Regions from separate parts of the Homo sapiens genome. Here regions 1 and 2 are each linked to region 3. The links are contacts of gene promoters, found by promoter capture Hi-C in blood cells and fetal thymus (Javierre and others, 2016). All regions are on one chromosome and are shown on one strand. The core of a region is centred on a gene start or on the middle of the fragment in contact, and the rest is flanking DNA. Distances in the headings are between cores, read along the strand shown.

The links. The method cuts DNA at HindIII sites, captures the fragments that hold promoters and counts their contacts. A CHiCAGO score of 5 or more calls a contact.
Region 1: the fragment with the promoter of TDRD7 here is called in contact with the fragment with the promoter of SLC35D2 in region 3 in 1 of 17 cell types (neutrophils); the score reaches 6.0 in neutrophils.
Region 2: a contact is called between the fragment with the promoter of FANCC here and the fragment with the promoter of SLC35D2 in region 3, in 3 of 17 cell types (M0 macrophages, M1 macrophages and naive CD8 T cells). The highest score is 12.6, in M0 macrophages.

The regions. Positions count from the first base shown.
Region 1 is chr9:97,410,300-97,413,458 of GRCh38, forward strand. It overlaps TDRD7 (tudor domain containing 7), which reads left to right and starts at 1,797. Exons shown (of 17, transcript NM_014290.3): 1 at 1,797-1,939. RefSeq lists silencers at 1,484-1,833, 1,854-2,063, 2,148-2,442 and enhancers at 1,778-2,279, 2,280-2,779, 2,384-2,643. The HindIII fragment of the contact is 7,534 bases long and covers 1-3,159 here.
Region 2 is chr9:95,316,112-95,319,213 of GRCh38, forward strand. It overlaps FANCC (FA complementation group C), which reads right to left and starts at 1,598. Exons shown (of 15, transcript NM_000136.3): 1 at 1,415-1,598. RefSeq lists a silencer at 950-1,269. The HindIII fragment of the contact is 1,904 bases long and covers 254-2,157 here.
Region 3 is chr9:96,382,262-96,385,440 of GRCh38, forward strand. SLC35D2 (solute carrier family 35 member D2) reads right to left here and starts at 1,450. Exons shown (of 12, transcript NM_007001.3): 1 at 1,216-1,450. The coding sequence starts at 1,373. SLC35D2-HSD17B3 (SLC35D2-HSD17B3 readthrough) reads right to left here and starts at 1,450. Exons shown (of 26, transcript NR_182427.1): 1 at 1,216-1,450. RefSeq lists silencers at 1,049-1,098, 1,109-1,438. The HindIII fragment of the contact is 17,441 bases long and covers 1-2,675 here.

The DNA.
Region 1 (3,159 bases), core at 547-3,046, 1.0 Mb after region 3:
GAGCTGGATATCAGGTTTTCCAGATTTACTTCCAATTTTTCTTTGTATTGCCTACTGCATCTTTTCACTGAATCAAAAGCTCTATAAGCACAGGCTTATCCATGAAAATTTGTTATTTAACAGCAGGTGTTCAATATATATTAGTTGATTGTCCATTCACCTTCTGACGGATGTTTGTATTCTTTCCATGTGGGGCTACGGCCAACACAACTGCCATGAGCACTCTTGTACAGGTTTTTGTGTGGACATCTGCTTTCATTTCTCCTGGGTAAATACCCAGGAGCAGAATTGCTGGGTTGCGTGGTAGGTTTGGTACATCCCTACAATACCATTCAGCAATAGAAAGACATGAACTATTGATACATGTAACAACATGGATGAACATAATTTGCTAAATAAAAGAAGCCAGGCAGCCCCCCAAAGGATAGTACATACGATTCCATACATAAAAGTTTTACATATAACTCTAGAAAAAGCAAAATAATCTATAGCAACAGAAAGCAGGTGAGCAGTTGAGGGGGCAAGTGACAGGGAGGGACAAGATATAAGAATTACAAAGGATCACAGTAAAACTTTTTTGGGTGATGGATATGTTCATGATTTTGATTGCAGTGATGGTCTCACAGTGATATATATATATCAAAACTTATCAAACTGTACATTTTAAACATTCAGTTTATTGTATGTCTTATACATGGCAGTCAAGCTGTAATAAAATACCGGTTGAATAAGCAGCAGGTTCTCAGTAAATGCATAATTTATCAAGCTGTACATTTTAAACGTTCAGTTTATTGTATGTCTTATACATGGCAGTCAAGCTGTAATAAAATACCGGTTGAATAAGCAGCAGGTTCTCAGTAAATGCATAATTTATCAAGCTGTACATTTTAAACGTTCAGTTTATTGTATGTCTTATACATGGCAGTCAAGCTGTAATAAAATACCGGTTGAATAAGCAGCAGGTTCTCAGTAAATGCATATCCAATGGTGCAGAGAAGTGTTCAATGTTGGCTGCAGGGATGCAAAGCAGGTGCCAATAAGTGTTGGTGGAATTAATGTGCAGAATAAATAAGTATTCACTTATTAGGTGTTCAATAACTTTAGAGTGAATGAATAAATTTGACAGATATTTATTGCTGATCGTGTGCTAGGCACTATCCTAGGCTCTGGGAATAGGTTAAGGAACCAAACAAAAATCCTTGTGCTCACAGAGCTTTAATTTTAGAAGGATAGCAGACAATAAAAGCATAAGTAAAATACATATAGTGTGCTAGATAGGTGCTAAGGAGAAATAAGGTTGAGAATGGGGATAGGGAAAGTCAAGGAAGGAGGTTGACATGTTAGAGACTGTGTCCACCGTCATTGAAAGGGTAATGCTTGAGAAAGGCCTGAAGGATATGGGCGGACAGAGTGTGTGTCTAGGGCAATAAAAAGTAACTGCTCCAGATGTTGAAGAAAATAATGTGCAGGAGTTGAACTGTTTGGAAGGAGGGTGAGCCCCATAGAAGGAGCCACCCTCGCCCCCTGCTGAGTCCCGGCTCGCTCGGCCCGCGCGTACCTGCGTTGTCCACCAGGAGGCGCTCCCGCACCCGCCCCGCAGGCGTCTTCCGCCGCCGGCCGGTGCGTGGGCACGCGCAGAAACCGCTAGGTGGCGACGGTTTCCCTTCCCACGCGCGGACGCCGGCGTGGGCCGACGCGGCCGGAGCGCCCGCGCGTGCGCAGAGCCGAGGCCAGGCTGCCCTCGAAGCGGGGCGGGGCGAAGCGGGGCGGGGCCGAGCAGGGCGGGGCGGGGGCTTGAGGTGATTCCCAAGCCGCGGGGCGGCTCCGGTGGTGCGGGGAAACCGAAAGTGGGCGGCGGCCGCGGCGGGGCCCCTGGCGGAGACGGCGGCAGGAGCTGGGCCCAGAGACGCGGGGACGGGCCGTGGGCCCCCGGAACGAGGTGAGTGCAGGTCCTGCGGGCTCCGGGCGCGACAGGTGCCGGGCGACGTCGGACGAGATTTCGGGCGGGCGCGGCGCACCTGGGTCACCGGTGGGACCGCGGCCAGGGCCGGGGGCTCCAACAGGCTCGGGGCCTTTTCCCTGCAGCCGCAGGGGATTGCCCCCGCCCCGACGCCTGGGAACCGGGCTGGGCGCCGGGGGAGTTGGAGTTCCAGAGCGTTGTGTTTTAAATCTCTGAAGGGACCCTGCTCCGGGCCGGGCGTTCACGCGGGAGTCGGACGGAGCCTCCTGCCGCCTCGGAAGCTCTGCGCCGTGGGGGAAATGCAGCAGCGGGGTGTGGACGCGGGCGGGAGATGCGGACCAGGAAGTGGTTCCCGCTACCGGCGCGACAGGCCGCAGCCGCCGCCCCCAGCGAGGGATGTCCGCGCTCCCCTATTTGAACCCAAGTATTTTACACCACGAACTTCTCTTGAAGGTCTCTATAATCTGGAGACGAGCCCCAGGCAGGCCGCTTAAGTAATGCAGGACACACATCCCCATTTCTCTCAAACGAGGAGCACCCAGTGGGTACAGAGCACCCAGCTGGGAGGGAAACATGGATCCGTGAGTAAGTTGTCTCTCAACTTTCAGTAGCATCCCCTCAGCAGGGTCAGACTCTCAGCTTCAGCTTGCTAGGAGGGAGCTTGGAGCCGGCATATCTTTCTGCTCCCATTCACTTGAGAGGTATATTTCCATTAATAGCTAAAGGTACCATTCTCAAATAATTTCTAAGAGCAGGGAAGGGAAACAACCACATTAGAACAAGTCCTGGCCCAGAAGAATTCTGATCACCGCCCATCCAAACCAAACCAAACCAAAAAACCACAGATCTAGTTCATTAACCCTCCTACCAACACCTCTCTGCTCTCCAATCGTGCCGGTGAAAAAAATGCAGAGAAATGTTCTCTCTAGAGAGATAGGCAACAGCTTAATAGCAGAAGTAAAACTTGGACCCAAATCCCTGTCTCGTCCTGGGCTGCCTTGATGTGTATGAATGTGTTGCATACTGCAAATAATGTGAACTTTGCAGACCTGGATTGAAATCTGGGCTTCTCATTTTACAAATTGTGTGATCTTGAACAAATTACATGCTTTCTCTTAGCCTGGTTTTCTATGTGTCAAATAGAGGTACCTGGCTTACTTTGCAAGGCTTTTCCAAGATAACCACTGTATATCCTTTGC
Region 2 (3,102 bases), core at 348-2,847, 1.1 Mb before region 3:
AATTCGAATGTATAATATACAAAGTATAATTAGTCCAGTTCTCAAGAAGCAGGCTCTATTACTGGGAGTAGTGGGTTGGTGAAAAAGATCTCTGATATATCTAGGAAAACAAATTCTTTTTCGATGCAGCCTTTCTTGTATATGAATAATGTATATGAGTGCTTATTTCCAGGTGACTCTGGTACAGCACATAACATTGAAACATCAATTCAAGTTTAATGTATAAAGTCGCAATGAACATGTTTTCCATCTAAGCTTAGGTAATGAATGATCTCAACACATGGTATGAATTCTACTGTTTGTAACAACCTTTCAGGGGAGTAAGGAGAAAACGATCTGTCTGAGGGCATATCACTGACAGTGAGTGACAGCCACAAAGAGCTGAAGTTGGGTGGCCCAAAAGTGCTCTGCTCATTTGATAAATGCTAAGTCAAATCACATCACAGTTTAGATGCATTAAATGGGGCACAAGTTAGAATAAAATCAGATGCCCGGGAGTTTTCCAAGTTTCAGATTAGAACAAAAGTCCAGGCACATACAGGACTTTGCTAGAAAACTCCTTGGTCTCTTCCCTTAAGATTCTGGTACCCAATTTCCCATGTTATAAAACTCCAAGTCTTTTCCCCCATTCGGTGCGCTGGACACATAAGATCATAGAGGGTTCGTAGTTGTAAACGCACCCACCTAAAAAATTAAAAAGAGCAAACCAACAAACAGCACCTGAAAAATCTCTCACGGGCTTTGAAGATATGGCCTGGCGTCCACAAAAAGAATGGAGGGAAGACACTGGCCTCTGCGAACCCGCCTCCCTCCGGGAATAAAAGGCGGAGGGCGGGAGGGGTAACAGCCGCGCCCCGGGCTCCTCTAATTGGACCTCGCCCCTCCTGGCGCCCCGGCGAATGGGGTTTGGGGGCAGGGGTGTGAGGGACGGGGAGGACGAGGCCAGCTGTAGAGGGCGACCGGCTCAAAGGGGCGAGCTTTTCACGGCTCCCACGAGTCCGAGGCAGAGAAATTCACCTTTGCTCCTCTCCTTTGAAGAAGACATAGCTGCCTGCGCTCAATGAACAAAAAGAACCAAAACGCCAACACCCGGCTCCCGCCTCTCCGGGGGCTCCCTTCCGCGCGACCCCAGCGCCGGCTCCCGCCCCCGCTTTCCCCGCCCTGGCCCCGCCCCGCGGGCTGGCACCGCCCGCCACCTTCCGCCTCCCGCCTCCCGCCTCCCGCCTCAGCCTTAGCCACAGCCCTGCGCCGGCGGGAACCCCTCTCGCCCACCGCAAGGCGCGCCTGGCCCACCCGCTCTCGCGAGCCTTCCCTCTTGCCCCTCGCCTCCTCCTCCCGCTCTCGCCGCTGACGTGTCGGCCAGACCCCCGAGGGAAGCCTCCGCCCTCGCTGCGTTCTGCGGCCTGCCGCTTACCGGGTGGTCCTCGCGGGAGCTGCTTCAGCAGTTTGGGCAGTGGCGGAAAGGAAGCCACCGCCCGGGATCTGTGGCTTGAAAATTTGGCTTTGCCTCGTATTGGCTTTTTGAGTTTTTTTGGAATTTTCCCGCGGTCGCCCGGCAGTGGAGCCGCGCGCGCGCACACGTGTCAGCAGTGCATTCTGGGGCCTGGCTAGCGGCCCCGCGCGCTCCCGCGGCGTCGCGGGAAAATTCCGACGAATCTCGGGTCCGTGGGGCGGGGCGGGCGCGGCCAGGGCTCTGGCGGAAGTGGGCCCGGCTGGGGCGGGTTCTAGGCGAGCGGAGTCGGTACTGCTCCAGTGTTCCCGGTTTCGCGCGGAAGCCCCGGCGGGAGCAGGGTTGCAGCAGCGCCCGCGGAGAAGGGGCGCTGGCTTCTTCCATATTCTGTTCAAAATGTAGGGGAGGTAAAATGGAAATTAGTTCTTTTGAAGAAAAGTTGAGGCTTTGTCAACGGGGTAAAACCTCTAAAATAAGATTTTCTAACTGCGTTCTAAACAATAGCAACAAAAAAGGCATCTTCAGTTAATGATTTCCCCTACCGTACATTAGTTCCATACAGTGTTTGGTCGGGGTTCAAATCAGTTCAACGCTGTACATAAACCACCCAAACAAATATTAATAAAATTTTCTCCAAACTCCCATTTATGACAATGGCATTAGCTTGTCTTGGTGAATTTTTTTTTCTTCTAGGATCTGACGACTTAAGCTTTAAAATGTCTTAAATCAATGCCTCACAACCATAAATCATAATCATAAAACTACAGCTTAGGTCGGGCGCTGTGTCTCAGGCCTGTAATCCCAGCACTTTGGAAGGCCAAGGCGGGCGGATCACGAGGTCAGAAGATCGAGACCATTCTGGCCAACATGGTGAAACGCCGTCTCTACTAAAAATACAAAACGTTTAACCGGGCGCGGTGGCGGGCGCCTGTAATCTCAGCTACTCTGGAGGCTGAGGCAGAATAGCTTGAACCAGGGAGTCAGAGGTTGCAGTGAGCCGAGATCGCGCCACTGCACTCCAGCCTGGCGACAGAGGGAGACTCCGTCTCAAAAAAAAAAAAAAAAAAGCTACAACTTCACATATACGTTCAAAAACACACTACAGGCCGGGCGCGGTGGCTCACACCTCTAATCCCAGCACTTTGGGAAGCTGAGGCGGGTGGATCACCTGAGGTCAAGAGTTTGAGACCAGCCTGGCCAACATGGCAAAAACCCGTCTCTACTAAAAATACAAAAATTAGTGTGTACTCCCGGCTACTTAGGAGGCTGAGGCAGGAGAATTGCTTGAACCCAGGAGGCGAAGGTTGCAGTAAGCCAAGATCGCACTACTGCACTCCAGCCTGGGCAACAGAGCGAGACTCTGTCTCAACAAAAAACACCACAAAGCTGTGTGTGCTTGTAATAAAAATAGCTCTCAAGTATTTAAACATGTCCAACTATTCCTATGGTGAAGAAATACCCGTTTTACCAATGAATACTTTCAATTCAGAGACTAATTTGCAGAGGTTATACATTTATAAGTGATACAATAAGTATATAGCATAGCAATAGCAACAATCTGTTTAAGAATTAAAGGTAGTTAAAAAAAGGAACCGATCCAGAGGTTGAGACAAAACTGGCAGAATCTGCAACTACATTAAGGAATTCGGTGT
Region 3 (3,179 bases), core at 200-2,699:
CTTGGAAACACACTGAGACCCCACCTCTACAAAAAATCAAAAAAATTGCCGGTGCAGTGGTGCACACCTATGGTCCCAGCTTCTCTGGAGGCTGCAGCAGAAGGATTGCTTGAACCCAGATGGTCGAGGCTGCAGTGAGTCATGATTGTGTCACTACACTCCAGCCTAGGCAACAGAGTGAAACCTTGTCTCAAAAAAATATTATACACACACACACACACACACACACACACACTATATATATATATATATATATGCCTGCCTTGGCCTCCCAAATGCTGTGATTACAGGTGCAAACCACCTCAGCCAGCCTCAGCTTTCGTATTTTATATTCGAGAAAAGTGAGACCCACATAAGCTGAATCTGTATGTATATATAAAAAAAGAAAGCTGATACTCTAAGATACTCTCTAACTAAGACACTCTAGGTCTCTTTGGGCTCTAAAATGTTGATGGCATATTCTTGTAACATAGTAGAGTTTACAAAGAGCCTTCACATATAACAGCTCGTGCAGAGCCCTGGAGGGTAATTAACACGATTGTAATCATTCAGGTTTTTTGCATCTGAAAAAAATTGCTGACTGTGAGACTGGTCCAAAAAGACAGGTGTTAACCGGTGGAGCTGGGTCTAAATCCACAATTTTCTCAGTGCCGCTACAATGGTAGCAGAATTAAGCAGGATTTTCTAGTCCTTACAAATAGGTTCAAGGCAGCACAAATTTGCGTTTACTTCACACTAATCCAAAAAAGTACTCCATATGAACTTCCAATTGTTTTCCCGAGTTTTCCATGAACACGCTGGTCATCTGAGAATGAACAGTCAATCAATACAGACTTACTGGCTCAGGAGTACCTGACCGTTGAACATGGAGATCTGTGTAAGGAATTGCGTCCTTTGAAGCAGGCATTTGAATCCCTGTTTTCAGCTCGCTGGGTGTATGAAAGAATCTGTCTGAGCTCTACCAGCCCACCTAGGACAGGGCGCCTCGCAGCAGGGCAGGCGCGCTCAGGAAGAGAACGACTTTCTCAGGTTGTGGCCTGAGTGTAGAAAGCTGAGCGAGTTCTGGAGGGCGCCTGGGAAACTCGACCAATGTGCCCAGCTGAGACTCGAGGGTCCCTGTCCCCACCCGCCCTGTCCCGGGCGCCGCTGAAGCGCACGGAGGACAGGGGCAGCCCCGCACTCCCGCAGACCCCCCGGCCCCGGGCCCCGCCTCACCCGTAGGTGGTCAGCAGCGCCTTGTTGACAAGCACGATGAGGAAGGAGCAGGTCCCGTAGAAGAGCGCCGACAGCAGCCGGGCCACCCGCGAGGGCAGCCGCGCCGCGCCGGGCTCCCCGCCAGCGCCCTCGGCCTCGGCCTGGCCGCCGGCCGTCATCTCCTGCGGCCCCGCGGACCCCGCCGCCCGCCAGCCCCGGCTGCGCACTGGTCCCGCCCGGCCGGGCCGGGGAAGAGGGCGCGGCAGGAACAGGAAGAGCCCGGCGCAATCCCAGGTCCCGACCCGCCCCCTGCGAGCGCCCGAGGCCGGCGCGGGAGGACCCTGCGCGCTGGACTTCACCCTGGTTCCAGGCACCTCCTTCGGTCTCCAGGGCCGGCAATGCGCTGGGGAGTTGAAAAGCGCTGCCTTCCTCCAGGCTTTCCTGGAAAGAAACGCTTCAGTAAGTCTCAGGGCTTGTTTTGCTTTTTTTTTTTTTTCCCTACAACTTTTTTGTTTAGTGTATAATTTACATACAATGAAGTGTACACATCTTGCCAGTCCATAGTTTGAGATGAGCTTCGACAAAGGCATCCACAGGAGTAACTACTCAAAACAACATTTCCATCGCCCCAAAAATTCCCCTTGCTGCCCCTTTGAAGTTAACGCCCGCATCTCATCGATGACTATTGCTGTAGGTTAGGTTTGCCTTTTCCGGAATTTCAAATAAACAGGGTGCTTTCTAGAATTTATGAATGAGCATGTGGTCTCAGGGGTTTTCACTCTATGCTTTGGACTCGACCATGTGGTTTGTTTAATCGTTGAATAGTATCACAAATTGTGTATCCATTGGTTGTTTCCAGTTTAGGACCATTAGGAAAAATGCTTCCATGAAAATTCGTGGGCGTTTGTGGGACCTGTGTCTTCATTTCTCTTAAATAAATATCTAGGAGTGGAGTGGCTAGGAGTAAGGTGGGTGAAGCCTTGGGACTTGGGTGTCCTCTGGGTGCTTTGTGGTAGGTGCATTCCTCGCGGAGGGCCGTTTGCCTTCGGGTCAGGTCAGTTGAAGGACAGCTTCCCAGAACCGCCTACCCTTGTCAGTCTTTAAAAAATATGAACTTTTGGCCAGGCGCGGTGGCTCACACATGTAATCCCAGCACTTTGGGAGACCGAGGCGGGCAGATCACGAGGTCAGGAGATCGAGACCATCCTGGCTAACACGGTGAAACCCCGTCTCTACTAAAGATACAAAAAAAATTAGCCGGGCGTGGTGGCGGGCGCCTGTAGTCCCAGCTACTCAGGAGGCTGAGGCAGGAGAATGGCGTGAACCCGGGAGGCAGAGCTTGCAGTGAGGCGAGATCGCGCCACTGCACTCCAGCCTGGGCGACAGAGCAAGCCTCCGTCTCAAAAATATATATATTATATATTTAATATATAATGTATATTATATATATATATATATATGAACTTTTAGCTTCTTAGAAAAGCTTAAGATTTCAAGTTAAATAAAAGTTGGGGCCTAACTATATAGATGCCCAGAGAATTGTTTTTCTACCCTTAGGCACTAAACAACCAGGAGAATGAAAACTGGGAAACATTTTCAGCCCTGATAAGAACTAAAGCAGAACTCGTGAAAATTAGCTAGCATTAAAAAGACCAGAAGTGCCCAAGTTACCCAAAACAAGAAAGAAAAGACATGTTAAGTCCGTTTTAAAAGAGAAAATGAATCCATATTCAAGTTAAACAGGAAATCGGTCATTTTGGTTAATTTCCTCAGAACATTCAATTTTCTTGTGAGTCTCCAAATGTTTTGACTGCAAAAAGAATATTTTAAAGTTATTTTTAATGATGACCTTCATCATAATTGCATTTAGTTTGATTGTATACACATACTTCCAGGACCTTACCTCGCTGTCAAAATCCCATCCTTACCCTGTTTAAACAGCAACTCACACTAAGGAGTTGCTTGTGATATTCTTCTGCACAAGG